2 separate regions of the Homo sapiens genome follow, and region 1 is linked to region 2. The links are contacts of gene promoters, found by promoter capture Hi-C in blood cells and fetal thymus (Javierre and others, 2016). All regions are on one chromosome and are shown on one strand. Each heading gives the region's core, a stretch centred on a gene start or on the middle of the fragment in contact. The rest is flanking DNA. Distances are from core to core; before and after follow the strand shown.

The links. The method cuts DNA at HindIII sites, captures the fragments that hold promoters and counts their contacts. A CHiCAGO score of 5 or more calls a contact.
Region 1: a contact is called between a fragment that was not itself captured here and the fragment with the promoter of FBP2 in region 2, in 1 of 17 cell types (M2 macrophages). The highest score is 5.9, in M2 macrophages.

The regions. Positions count from the first base shown.
Region 1 is chr9:95,127,727-95,133,966 of GRCh38, forward strand. The region is part of intron 8 of FANCC (FA complementation group C); the gene reads right to left. It also overlaps a transcript of AOPEP not described here. Among named protein-coding and RNA genes, the nearest start is that of MIR3074, 45 kb to the left of the region's middle. RefSeq lists silencers at 2,201-2,495, 3,641-3,935 and an enhancer at 4,455-4,957. The HindIII fragment of the contact is 8,135 bases long and covers 1-5,699 here.
Region 2 is chr9:94,591,633-94,597,435 of GRCh38, forward strand. FBP2 (fructose-bisphosphatase 2) reads right to left here and starts at 2,192. Exons shown (of 7, transcript NM_003837.4): 1 at 1,925-2,192. The coding sequence starts at 2,094. RefSeq lists an enhancer at 1-201. The HindIII fragment of the contact is 4,350 bases long and covers 1,827-5,803 here.

The DNA.
Region 1 (6,240 bases), core at 382-2,881, 540 kb after region 2:
GAGGCGCTCTGCTCCGGCCGTGCCCTGGATCACACTGAGGCAGGACCGCGCCTCCTCGCGGCCTCCCCGATGACATTGAGCCCGCGCCATCTAGCGTCCACTGGTCAGCACTGCTGGACCCGCCGGGCTCCAGGCAGGAGCTCTGCCACTTTTTCAGGACAGGATAAATCTCCTTTTAATTATTTCAAGATTTCTAATTTGCAAGTTAAAATGTCCTACTCTTTAAATAATCTATGCTCCCTCATCCTTCACTGATGTGCATTTTTATCTAAAAGGAACCAACTTGATATTCTTACAGATAAATTCATTATCTATGCAAGAAAATAATTTGGCAGGACCACCGTTCAAGAGAGGAGAGGCAGGTTATTTCGTGGCTTCGAACTTAGGCATGTCAGTTAATCTCCTGATGCCCAGTCTCACTGTAAATAATAAAAGTTATTAAGAGGTCACCGGATATAAGCACGGAAAATATAAAAGTTTCTATGTATTCATAATGAAAAAATAAAACAAGGGAAAAGCAACCGTATGTCTTGAAGAAATGTGATTCATCTAAGTTTGCCAGAGCAATTTTCAAAGTTTGTACAACAACATGCCTATTGAATAAGAGTGTTTAAGATCAAATAGCACTGTTATGTGCCCACAGGCAGACAGATAAGAGCTTGGAAATGCGTTGATAGAAAGTAAGATGAAACTTGAAAATGGTAAAATTAAATTTCTTTTTTCTAAATGGTCAAACTATCCCAGAGCCATTCTATAGGTTTGATGCTAGTAGAGAATCATTCAATACTAATTATAGGGATTTCCAAACAGCAAAGAAAATGATGATCAGATGTAGATTAGGGCTACTATGAAAACCACTGGGGGAGCAAGGAAGACAGCTCTTACTCAGTTTGTTAGAAGAGAGTGAGAGCTTAGATCTGCTCCTCTTCTGTGCGCTGTTTTCTAGCAAAATCGCTCAATCCAATGTTTTAAATGCCTGCTGGCTGTGTGGAATCTGCTTGTTCTTCCCCATACAGATGGACTCTCCTCTTAGATTTCTTTCTTTCCAAATATTTCAGACCCTTGGCTACTCTCAGCCTGCTTCCACAACCCATTTTAGCTTTTAAAACAGGTAAGAGGCCAGGAGGCAGGGGAACCTGCAGAAACAGCAACGGCAGAGATTTTGATTTGAAAACCAGTCTCCTTTTTTTTTTTTTTGAGACAGGGTCTCATTCTGTTGCCAGGCTGGAGTGCAGTGGTGATCTTGGCTCACTGCAACCTCCAACTCCTGGGTTCAAAAGATTCTCCTGCCTTAGCCTCCTGAGTAGCTGGGATTACAGGCACGTGCCACCACACCTGGCTAATTTTTGTATTTTTAGTAGAGATGGGGTTTCACCGTGTTGGCCAGGATGGTCTCGATCTCCTGACCTCACTGAAAAAAAAGAAAACCAGTCTCCCTTGCTACCCCTACAGCTGTGAACTGCTCCTTCTCATCTGCACCCCTCACCGATGGCTTTTAAAATGACACTCTTTATACTTTTTGAGCACATAATTTCAGGGTCAGTGAGTCCCCTCATGAGGACTAGAGTACTACAGGTCAGGCATATGTCCCAGCGACATCAAATCACAAAAGCAATCTTAAGCTGCTTTTCTTATCAAGATAATCTTCCAAATAGAATTAAGGTTTTAATACACGCTTCTTTGGAAGCCGTATCTTCCCCCCTAAATCTCTGTAGCATCTTCATGAGTGATGACGCAGGCATCTAACCTCTGATCCTGTTTTATTTGTAAGGTGGGGCACTCCGGTAACACACCAGAGGTCACGCTGCAAGCCAGGGCTCTGAAGCCCCATGACTGCGGCCATTATCTTTTCTATAAAAGCGGGGAAATAAAATAAACCTTTTGTGGTTTCCATCTGTTTGTTTTTCTCCATCCTACCAAAATCTGTTCCTTCTCAAGCTCTCTCTTCTCCATCTGGCCTAACAATTTCCACAGGCAGATCATTTCAACTCGAGGGGAGCTATGTCAGCAGGAGGTCTTCAATAACATGAGTCTTGTCCTTCCCTCCTTATCTCCCCCCTCAGGCTTTTCACTGAATGCCCAGGATGACTAGGGAGCGAAGATGGAGAGCTCTGGGTTCTGCCCTCCCTCTTGTATAGACCCGATTGTTCTGCTGGGTGTGCATCCCCTTGGGCTAACAAGAGCTTTCCCTCTGATCTCCCCTCATGGCTACCCAGAATTGCATTGTTTATCTCCCCTCCACCTAGAAAGAAAGCCCATCTTCATCCCTCAAAACACAAGGGAAGACAAAGTCAACATGGAATCAACACACAATAACCATGGTCTCAGTGCCTGTTTTGGAAGAGAGGCAAGGGAGAGGCCAACTTGTCACTCTGCACCATGAACTGTGCAAATTACACAGGCTCTTGTGCCCGGTCCTTGATGTTTACTTAAGCTGTTATTTTCATACCAACTCACCAATGATTATTACAAGCCACTTGCCACTTGAAAGAGGCCTGAGAACAAGAAGAACAGAATTCTCAGGAAGAAGCATTTCTTTCTGTCATTTGCTGATTCTGTGTGTGTGTGTGTGTGAGAGAGAGAGAGAGAGAGAGAGAATAGGGAAAAGGAGAGGGACAGAAAACAAACCAAAAAGGGAAATTATACTATGATTTAAGGTAACTCACAGACAAAAGCAAATCCCTTTTAGAAAAAATAAAAAGGCAGTGAAGGAACAGAAAAAATTATCAAGTGCTTTCCATCTATCACCTTTCATAGATATATTCGCCTTAAAAATAAAGAAGGAAATAGCAGATGACAGAGAAGCTGAAGTTCATTAAGCCTGGAATAGATTCTTTCCTGGTATTTTCATGTACTTGCATGTAGCTTAAATATTTACTTAGGAAATGGGTCATTTAAAGAATCAGCTGATGGGCAGCTTCCCCTCCAGTTTACCCAGCAGCCGGACAATCCCGTCCCACCGTGTAGCTGTTTCCGAGCCACTGTTCTCTCCACAGTGGGAAGCCCTTGTTGTTAATATGTGCATATTCACTACAAAATACCTTTCTTCTTAAAAAGAAGATTCTCCATAAGAGTCATTTCACCAGTGAACTCCTCTATTGAAGTGAAAAATGATTTGGCTTGAGAAAAACCTATTTATACAAAACCTTCACATCTATCATGTACAATGAGGCACCTTTATAAATATGTATTTTTTATTATGCCATTTGCTTCTTTTCTATTTTCAAAATACTAAACATAAGACTCTAAATATCCCTTTTACATTTTCAGATCTATTTTGTTTTAAAACATTCAGGTTCCTTTTAACAAATTTGAGCTCGGAAAAATTATTCTTTCTTTTTAATCTTTACCAGATGTTGTTTATACACAAACAATTTTTTCAGTACTCCATAATGCAATTATTGTTTAATTAGTGATAAATCTGTCATTCCTGGGCTTAAGAACTTAACAAGTACCAAATGTACTTTTGCGTCTTAAATTTACATGTGCTCTTCTCTGTGTTTGGACACAGAGGATCCCCAGCACCCCCTCCCCTGCCTGAAGTCCTTCTAGCCTTGCCCAGTGGCCTCTATCCAATTAGCCCGGGTAGCCCAAGCTGGAAGAAAGCTCCTCAGCCCCCTGCTGCTTCACAGCTCAGCCTGAGTGGCAATGACCCCTACGTCCACCCCTGCTTTGTTTTTGGGTTTTTCCCTCTCTCCCTTCATCTCTGGCCACAAGGTCTGCATCCCCAACTGCAATTCCATTGCAAGGAAACTCGCAACGTGGGCCTCTTTCTTCACAGAGACTATGCTGGAGGATCTGGTGCCCCCCTGAGGCTAATTCTGGAAAGTGCAACTCCAGTCCAAGATGCAGAACCTCCCAGCTTTTAGCCATACACATCAGCCAGCACTACTGGACTACTGCTAAATTATCTACTTCAGCTCTTGTTCAATTACATGCACCACATTAAAGAGCTCAAAAGGAAGTGCCGAAAAGACTGAAAAAGCAGGAAAAGAAAACCCTGGCATGTTAGTGAAAAGCTACTTAAGCACAGCAAACTGACAATATCACCCAGGATGTAGAGTGAACTCTTCAGCACAATATTTTACCAAGGAGGAGCTGCATACTGGGAGTCTGTGTAAAGGAAGTTTCTTTTTCTTTCTGAAGTGCTACAATTGCTACCTGGAGAATGAGGGAAAAAAACACAACCTATCCCATATTGAGGAGGATACTGAGGTATCTAGATGCTTTTTATTCTTAAGTTCTTATTAGATAAAGTAATCTTTTGAATTAAGCCATAAAGATTTTTAGGTAGGAGAGAAAATGAAGCATATTCTGATATCAAATCTTAGCAGAAACAACTCTGCCTCCTGGGCGCCTCCTCTGCTCCTTTCTTTTGGGGACAAGTCTGCCTGGGAAGGTGAGGCTAGCTCCTCTGGACCCAGCTGCGGGCGGGCTCTGCCAGCAAATGGGAGGGCATGAGAATCGGGTACCTTCCGGCCCTGGCATGCAGCTTGCCAGCCAAGCACAGTGCCACCCTGACACCCTGCAGACACTTTTCATTCCAATGTGGAATCCAAAGAATAGCTTTCTGGGCTCCACAAACAAAATTGTAACTGGAAAACATAACATCCTTCTAATTTGGGGCCAGCCTTGGGAAACCGAACAATGCCAAGAAGGCTGCATAATTAACAAGTGGCTTTCACTGCTGTCGGTGACATCGGTTTTTAAGGTCAGGTCTGAAGCTATGGATTATGGTCTTCCCGTGCCCATGCTGTCAAGGAAAACACAAGACCATCTGCTTTTGAAAAGTTTCAGTCTGTACAGTAAATGACAATCTAGGGCTAATACCTCACTTGATGTAGGAGCTACCAACCGTGGCAGACAGCATGACTCGACAGCAGTCCAGTCCACCGCACGGAAGCCAAAGGGGAAGCCTCAAAAGTGAACGGGTTTTGAAAACTTTTCTTTTATTTTAGATGTTAAATACATACATAGTCATTTGGAACTCAGGTAATAAGAGACTAATCCCTCATTATTCATGGTCTTAATGGAAAATATCAGACCTGCGAGTCCAAGAGGCCAAAGAACATTTGGGAAGGTCATTTCACTTTGTACAACCTGTACCACACTTTTATCTTTTGTTTTTGTTACATTTTGGTAACTATAGAATTTCCAGGACTCATTCTGCATAGTCCCAAGAGAGAGAAATATAATTAACAGTGCTCTATATAAAACACAAGTTATGTAGACCATCACACTTTAATTACTCTCAGAATCCAACTCTAATGTAATAGGCATCAGGTTTCCTCTGGAGCACAGCGCAGCAGTCTCGTGCTATCTGAGTCTTAGAGATCTCTCTGATACTTCTGTACAGTCCTGTCACTGCACCAAGATACTGCACTGCGATAAATGAATCAGATGATGCAATTAGGAAGCAGGCTCTTCAGGTTACCCCTGCAATCACTTAGCCACGTCACAGGCCTATTGCGGCCTGCCTGGCTTTCTGGCACTGCAGGCCCAGGATGCTGAGGAGAACAGCCCACACCAATCAGGGGCTTCCAGCCATCGTCTGTATTGTAATTACGTCCTTGAACCATGAGGCACAGAGAGGTCACATCCTGCCAATGCCACAATAAATTAAACCAAATAACACCCTCTAGAATCCCCCTTTAGCCATAATGGAAGCTCTGAATTTCTGCACACATGATCCCGATAAAAGCTTTTGTAAGTCAACTGACTTCAAAGCTGTGTGACTCGTGGGAGATTACTGTAAACTACAAACTGGAGACTGAGCATTATACAGTTATGTGCAATGGGACGGCCTGCGTTCTCTGTCTTGCATCTGCTGTGCTCACCACAGTGCTGCTCAGGCATGAGGGCCACAGGCAAAAAGGACATGGAGAAGGTTCAGGGAAGAATCCAAGGATTAAGGAAAGGCTGGAAAAAAGGCAATGGGACTAGAATTTTTCAATAGGGAGAAGACTTAAGGAAAATGTCATAAGCACCCTGGAAGCAAGCATATAGCCCAGTTACTATCATTTTGCCACTGAAAAGGGACCAGAGAAACTGAAATCCTAGTATGCACATGTAAGTTAGTAATAGATTTAGCAGACAATAAAGGTAATTTATGACCTTGAATCACCAGGAATGGGCTGTCAGAGGGCTTCTGAAAGTCATGATTTATTTTGAATTGTACTGCAACCATTTTAAAATAAGGTGCATTCCTATTTCTTGCCTTAATATATGACTCTTCCGGAT
Region 2 (5,803 bases), core at 942-3,441:
TGGTCATTGACGGCTCAGGCACAGGCAAATCTGGTCTGGGCTTGGAACCGCGGTAGTGACAGGCACTGTGCGTGTCTTACGGGGCCGGCACAGTTGAAATCGTCATCACATGCGCTCGCTAACTCTGCAACAACCCTAAGAGTTAGGGATGCTACTATACTCTCCATTTCACAAAGGGAATCTAAGGTCCTAGCAAGAGTAAATCACGCCCATTATCACACGGTAGGAAATGCCAAATTAATAAGCACCTCAATTATCCAGTTCCTAGGGCCACTTTGTCTCCTTGCTCAACCGCCATAAAGTCAGAGTTTTGCAGCAGATAAGCAAGACCCCTACCATGGCAGCCACTGCCTAGCCAAGAGCCCTGCACAGAGGGGGAGCCCAATTTATGTGGATGAATCACCCTGAGATGGACTCAGGCAACCGCATTGAGGATAGCAGGGTCCGCACAGGGAGAGGCAAAGTCCCTGTCTACCGTCACTCAGCAGGGCTGTCACCCACAGGAGCAGAACAGGGCACCGCCTGCCCTCACATTCTGGAAGGCGATTAAATGCAGAGCGTGGCTGTTATTGCCAAATGAGGTAAAAACAGAGCTGAAGCATCCACCCACAGGAAAAAAGCAAGGATAATGCACCGTTAACCTGGGTCCTGCTACTGGGTCACCACCCCTAAATAAATACAGTCTGTGGTGATCAAATGATAATTACATCTTGTAATCTAATGCTATCACTTTTTGTGTTAAAAGCACTTAATTGCTCAGAGTAAATATTTTAAATGATTGGACTTTGTTAGCTCCTCATTTTGAGTCTCTTTCATCCCCAAAATATGTGTTCCTTCAGCTCCTGAGAGGACCTCCCCTGGAATTACTACAAGGGAAGCCCAAAGAAAGCTGGGGTTTTGTTTGTTTGTTTGTATGTTTTGAGATGGAATCTCGTCCTGTCACCCAGGCTGGAGTGCAGTGGTACGATCTCGACTCACCGCAACCTCCATCTCCCAGGTTCAAGCGATTCTCCTGCCTCAGCCTCCCGAGTAGCCGGGACTACAGGCGCCCGCCACCACACCCAACTAATTTTTGTATTTTTAGTAGAGACAGGGTTTCAACATGTTGGCCAGGATGGTCTTGATCTCTTGACCTCATGATCCACCCACCTTGGCCTCCCAAAGTGCCAGGATTACAGACAGGAGCCACCGTGCCTGGCCACCGGATTCTTTTTATTACAGACTTAAACTGGACACTGGGCTGTGACCATCAGCAGTGTAATGTGAACCTGGCCTCATCTATGCTCGGATAAAGCACCAAAGAGAACCCTGTGGAAGAAACCTCTGCGCTCCCCTCCCAGGACTAGCACCTCCCGGCTTCCTGCACACCAAGTGGAGGTGAAGATAAAGAAAGAGTCACAGAGAAGAAATAAAACACGTAGCCAGCAAAACACTCCTTTAGATGATGAGAGAGCAGATGCAGGAAGGGGCTCTACCAAGCTTCCTATGTCGTACATAATTTCCAGCTCCTAACATATTTGCAAAGCTTATTACAATAAAACACTCATGTCTGCAAGAGGCATAAAGAGATATTTCACGTCACCCCTCTACTTCTTTGTTCCAGTGAGACTCTCTCTGTGCAAGTACAAGTCATGATAACACAATACATATTTTAATGCAACAAGCCACTGCACTTGGTATCATTATAATAACTGGAAAAATTATATGTGTATTTCTTCATAGCATGTTTTCGTTCCTTTCTCAAAACAAGTCAAAGGCCCCTTTATCAAAGCACACATGATAGGAACTTGAAATGCAGCTTCCATCTAGGGCACACAGGGCCAATAAGCTTTGGACCCAGTTTCTTGCCAAAGCACCTGCAGCTCCCACACCCCTGCCTGGGCCTGGGGTGCTCTGTGCCCCATGCCTGCTCCCCAGGACTCACAGGTGGGCCAGACCGGCCTTGCGCACAGCCGAGGAGATGGCTTTGATGGCCGTCAGCATTGAGTTCAGCAGCTGGGTGAGCTCCCCAGTCCCTTTGGCCTGACGCCCCTTTTCCATAACGTAGCGGGTCAGGGTGAGCATGTCGGTTTCGAAGGGGCTTCTGTCCGTCATTTTGGCTGGAATGCTTCAAATCCTTTTCTCCCGGCAGGAAACCTTGCTTACTTCTGAGGGCTGCAGCTCCGCAGTGTGGAAGCCGATAAGAAATCTGTGCTGGCCCTGCCAGGATCTCTAAGGAAAAGGGCCCAAAACACATGACTCAAACAACTGCTGGGGCCCTCAAGGAACTCCCTCTGGCCTCGGGGACTGTGGCAGCTGCCAGGGAGCCGCAGCAGTCTGTAAATAGGACGGGCTGCCCAGAAACATGGAGCTGCTTTCTCCTGCTGAGCACCCCCTTTCAAGATACCAAGAAGCCACCATTTAGGCACAGGTGGGAGGTGAGAAATCCAGTTGATTAAAAAATGATGCATAAAACCCTCTTATTCCAGGCTCCAAAGGATTCTTCACATATAGTGACTGCAGGGCCTGGCTCTCCCGAGGGCGGAGGTGGCAGATTCGCAGGTTCCTTATCTGGGACGTAGGTCACATAGTAACATAATGGCAACCCCAGAATTCCTTTAGCCAGGGTTTGGAATAAGTTAGGAAAGAATGCTTTTTATTTCCAGTAGGCATGTATGACCAGTGGATATCCACAGTAGAGATCCAGATCCGGAAGAAAACTATTATATTCCTAGCACAGTTCCTGGCACCAGTGTTATTTTGTCAATATCTCTGGATGTCCACTTTTGTAACAAAAATTGCTTGTTAAAAAGGAAACACTAAAGAAGTGGATAAAGACAAACCTCCTCACCACCAGCCCATTCTCCCATCCCACTCTCCAGAAATCACTGCTGCTAGGGCTGGTGGCGGTCTGTGCAGCCAGTAGGCACTGGTGGGGTGCATATGGTGGTGGAAGCACTTTCTCTAGGGCCAGCCAGACCTGGCTGTGAGTCCCAAGCTAGCTATCTGTTGGTTGCATGATTTGAGAAAGTTATTAAACCCCTTGGAACCTCAGTTGTCTCACTCTTAAATGAGCATAACCGTGAAGCATCCATCTTATAGAGTGGCTGCAATGAGATGTACCTAGTATAGTAGGTGCTCAGTACTTTGTTACCTATTATTGCCCTTCCAGTTTTTTTTTTTTTTTTTTTTTTTTTTTTTGAGATGGAGTCTCACTCTGTCGCCCAGGCTGGAGTGCAGTGGCGTGATCTCGGCTCACTGCAAGCTCCGCCTTCCAGGTTCACGCTATTCTCCTGCCTCAGCCTCCCGAGTAGCTGGGACTACAGGCGCCTGCCACGACGCTTGGCTAATTTTTTGTATTTTTAGTAGAGACGGGGTTTCACCGTGTTAGCCAGGATGGTCTCGATTTCCTGACCTCGTGATCCGCCCGCCTCGGCCTCCCAAAGTGCTGGGATTACAGGCGTGAGCCATCACGCCCAGCCGCCCTTCCAGTCTTTCAATGTGCTCACAACTATTGTGCAATCATACATAATCTCATTTCACAAAACAGTACAACATGCACATTTCTCTGAAGGTCTTTTCCCCTGACAGTTATGTCGATTAGAATGTGTTCAGCTGCAAGAAATAGAACAACTAGAGCAATTTACACGTGGGGGTTTATTTCCTCATAGACCAGGAGTGCACTAGGAGGTGGTGGCTGGTGTTCATTCAGCTGTTCTTGGTTCCACTGGGACCCCTCTCTGTCTCGTCTCTGTCATCCTTGGTCGGCTGGATTGTGCCCCTTGCTTGGCATCCTGGGGGCACAAAATGTCACTGCAGTTCTGAACATCTGGCCCACGTTGAAGATGCAAAGAGGGGAGCAAGGGCAGCTCCAACCACATCAGTTCCTTTTTATTAAGAAAGAACAGTTTCCCTGGAACCCATCCTCCCACCCCCGTAGACGTCCCTGTGCACAGCGTCTGCCAGATCAGGGTCGTGTGGTGATGCCTGCAGTGGGAGCTGGGCGCTGGCATTGGATCAACCAAACTGGTTGAGGAGGGCAACCAAATGGTTGAGATGGGCATTGGTGCTCACAATTTATGTGGAAACTTTCAGATAAAACTAACATCTACCAGTAGATCTTAATATGCAGGTTTAAGATCCCAAATATATATATATGTTATTTATATATGTTTTTAGTTCCAGAAAGCAAATATTATGGGAAGATGTCCAAGTCAGCACACAGAGGCTTGGATCATTCCAGCTTGCGGACATTCAGATAATTTAGGTAAGTTGGCTCCTCAAATAGTAATGCAACAAACATCCTTATATTGGGGCAAGTGCTTCAGTAAGATACAACCCCAGAAGAGGAACTGCTATGTGACAATGTTCTAATTCTTTTCGCGGGGGTGTGGGGGGGTCTATCTTCACTTACCAAGAAATATGCTACCTCTTAATAGAACAAATACAGGATCCCATACCCTTTTTGTGATTTTCATTCAATCTATTTCAACTTTCAACACTGAGGTGAATGGATAGATGGAGACAGATGACACCTCTATCTCAGTATGTGGCACACATTAATCCACCCAATTATTTGATCCAGTAGTGCTATTTTTACAGATGAGGAAACTAGGGCTTCCTAGGGATAACACAGCTACTAGCTAGAATCTCAGCCCAGAGCTACCTGAGGTTAGCGTTCTTTCTCTTATATGATACTTTCTCCCATTCTAGGATGCTCCTCCTCCCTAGATGACTGAGCACCATACACGACAATGCACATATGCCTGTTAACACAATTAGAACATAGAATAAGACATGAGCTTAGAATTGAGTTCTAACAAGAGAGATCGCTATGTATAATAAAACAAGAACATCTGCCTGGGTCAGACCAGAGTATTGCTAAATCTATACCCAAAGGAAAGAAGCCTGGGCCGGGAATCAAAGCCCTCCGGGACTCAGATGCCTCAATTTAAAAATGAGATCCAGCTGAGCACAGTGGCTCACACCTGTAATCCCAGCACTTTGGGAGGCCAAGGCAGGGGGATCACTTGAGCCCAGGAGTTCAAGACCAGCCTGGCCAACATGGTGAAACCCCATCTCTATAAAAAAAATACAAAAATTAGCCAGTGTAGTGGCGTGCACCTGTAGTCCCAGCTACTCAGGAGGCTGAGGTGGGAGGATCACTTGAACCTGGGAGGCAGAGGTTGCCGTGAGCCAAGATGGCACCACTGCACTGCAGCCTGGGTGACATTGAGAGTCTGTCTCAAAAAAAAAAAAAAAATGGGATTAGACTTCATGATCCCTAACTGTATTATCTTCACTTAGTTTTAAAAACACACATTTTCGGCCAGGTGCAGTGACTCACACCTGTAATCCCAGCACTTTGGGAGGCCAAGGCAGGCGGATCACGAGGTCAGGAGATCGAGACCATACTGGCTAACGTGGAGAAACTCCATCTCTACTAAAAATACAAAAAACTAGCTGGGCATGGTGGTGTGCACCTGTAGTCCTAGCTCCTTAGGAGGCTGAGGCAGGAGAATTGCTTGAACCTGGGAGGCGAAGGTTGCAGCGAGCCGAGATCGCACCATTGCACTCCAGCCTGGACAACAGAGTGAGACTCCATCTCAAAAAAAAAAAAAAGAAGAAGAAGAAAAGAAAAGACATATTATCACTGCTTCCAAGTGTTTCTGAATCCAAATGAAAAGTGGTTGCCTTCATCATTCAGAACAATACTGTCACATTGAGAAATATGCTGGGGAAAAAAAGTTATTAGCAAGAGAGCCTTCTGCAATGGCTTCACTTCTGTCAGTTGCTAAGGGTAAGGTAAAGACTTGGGTATCAT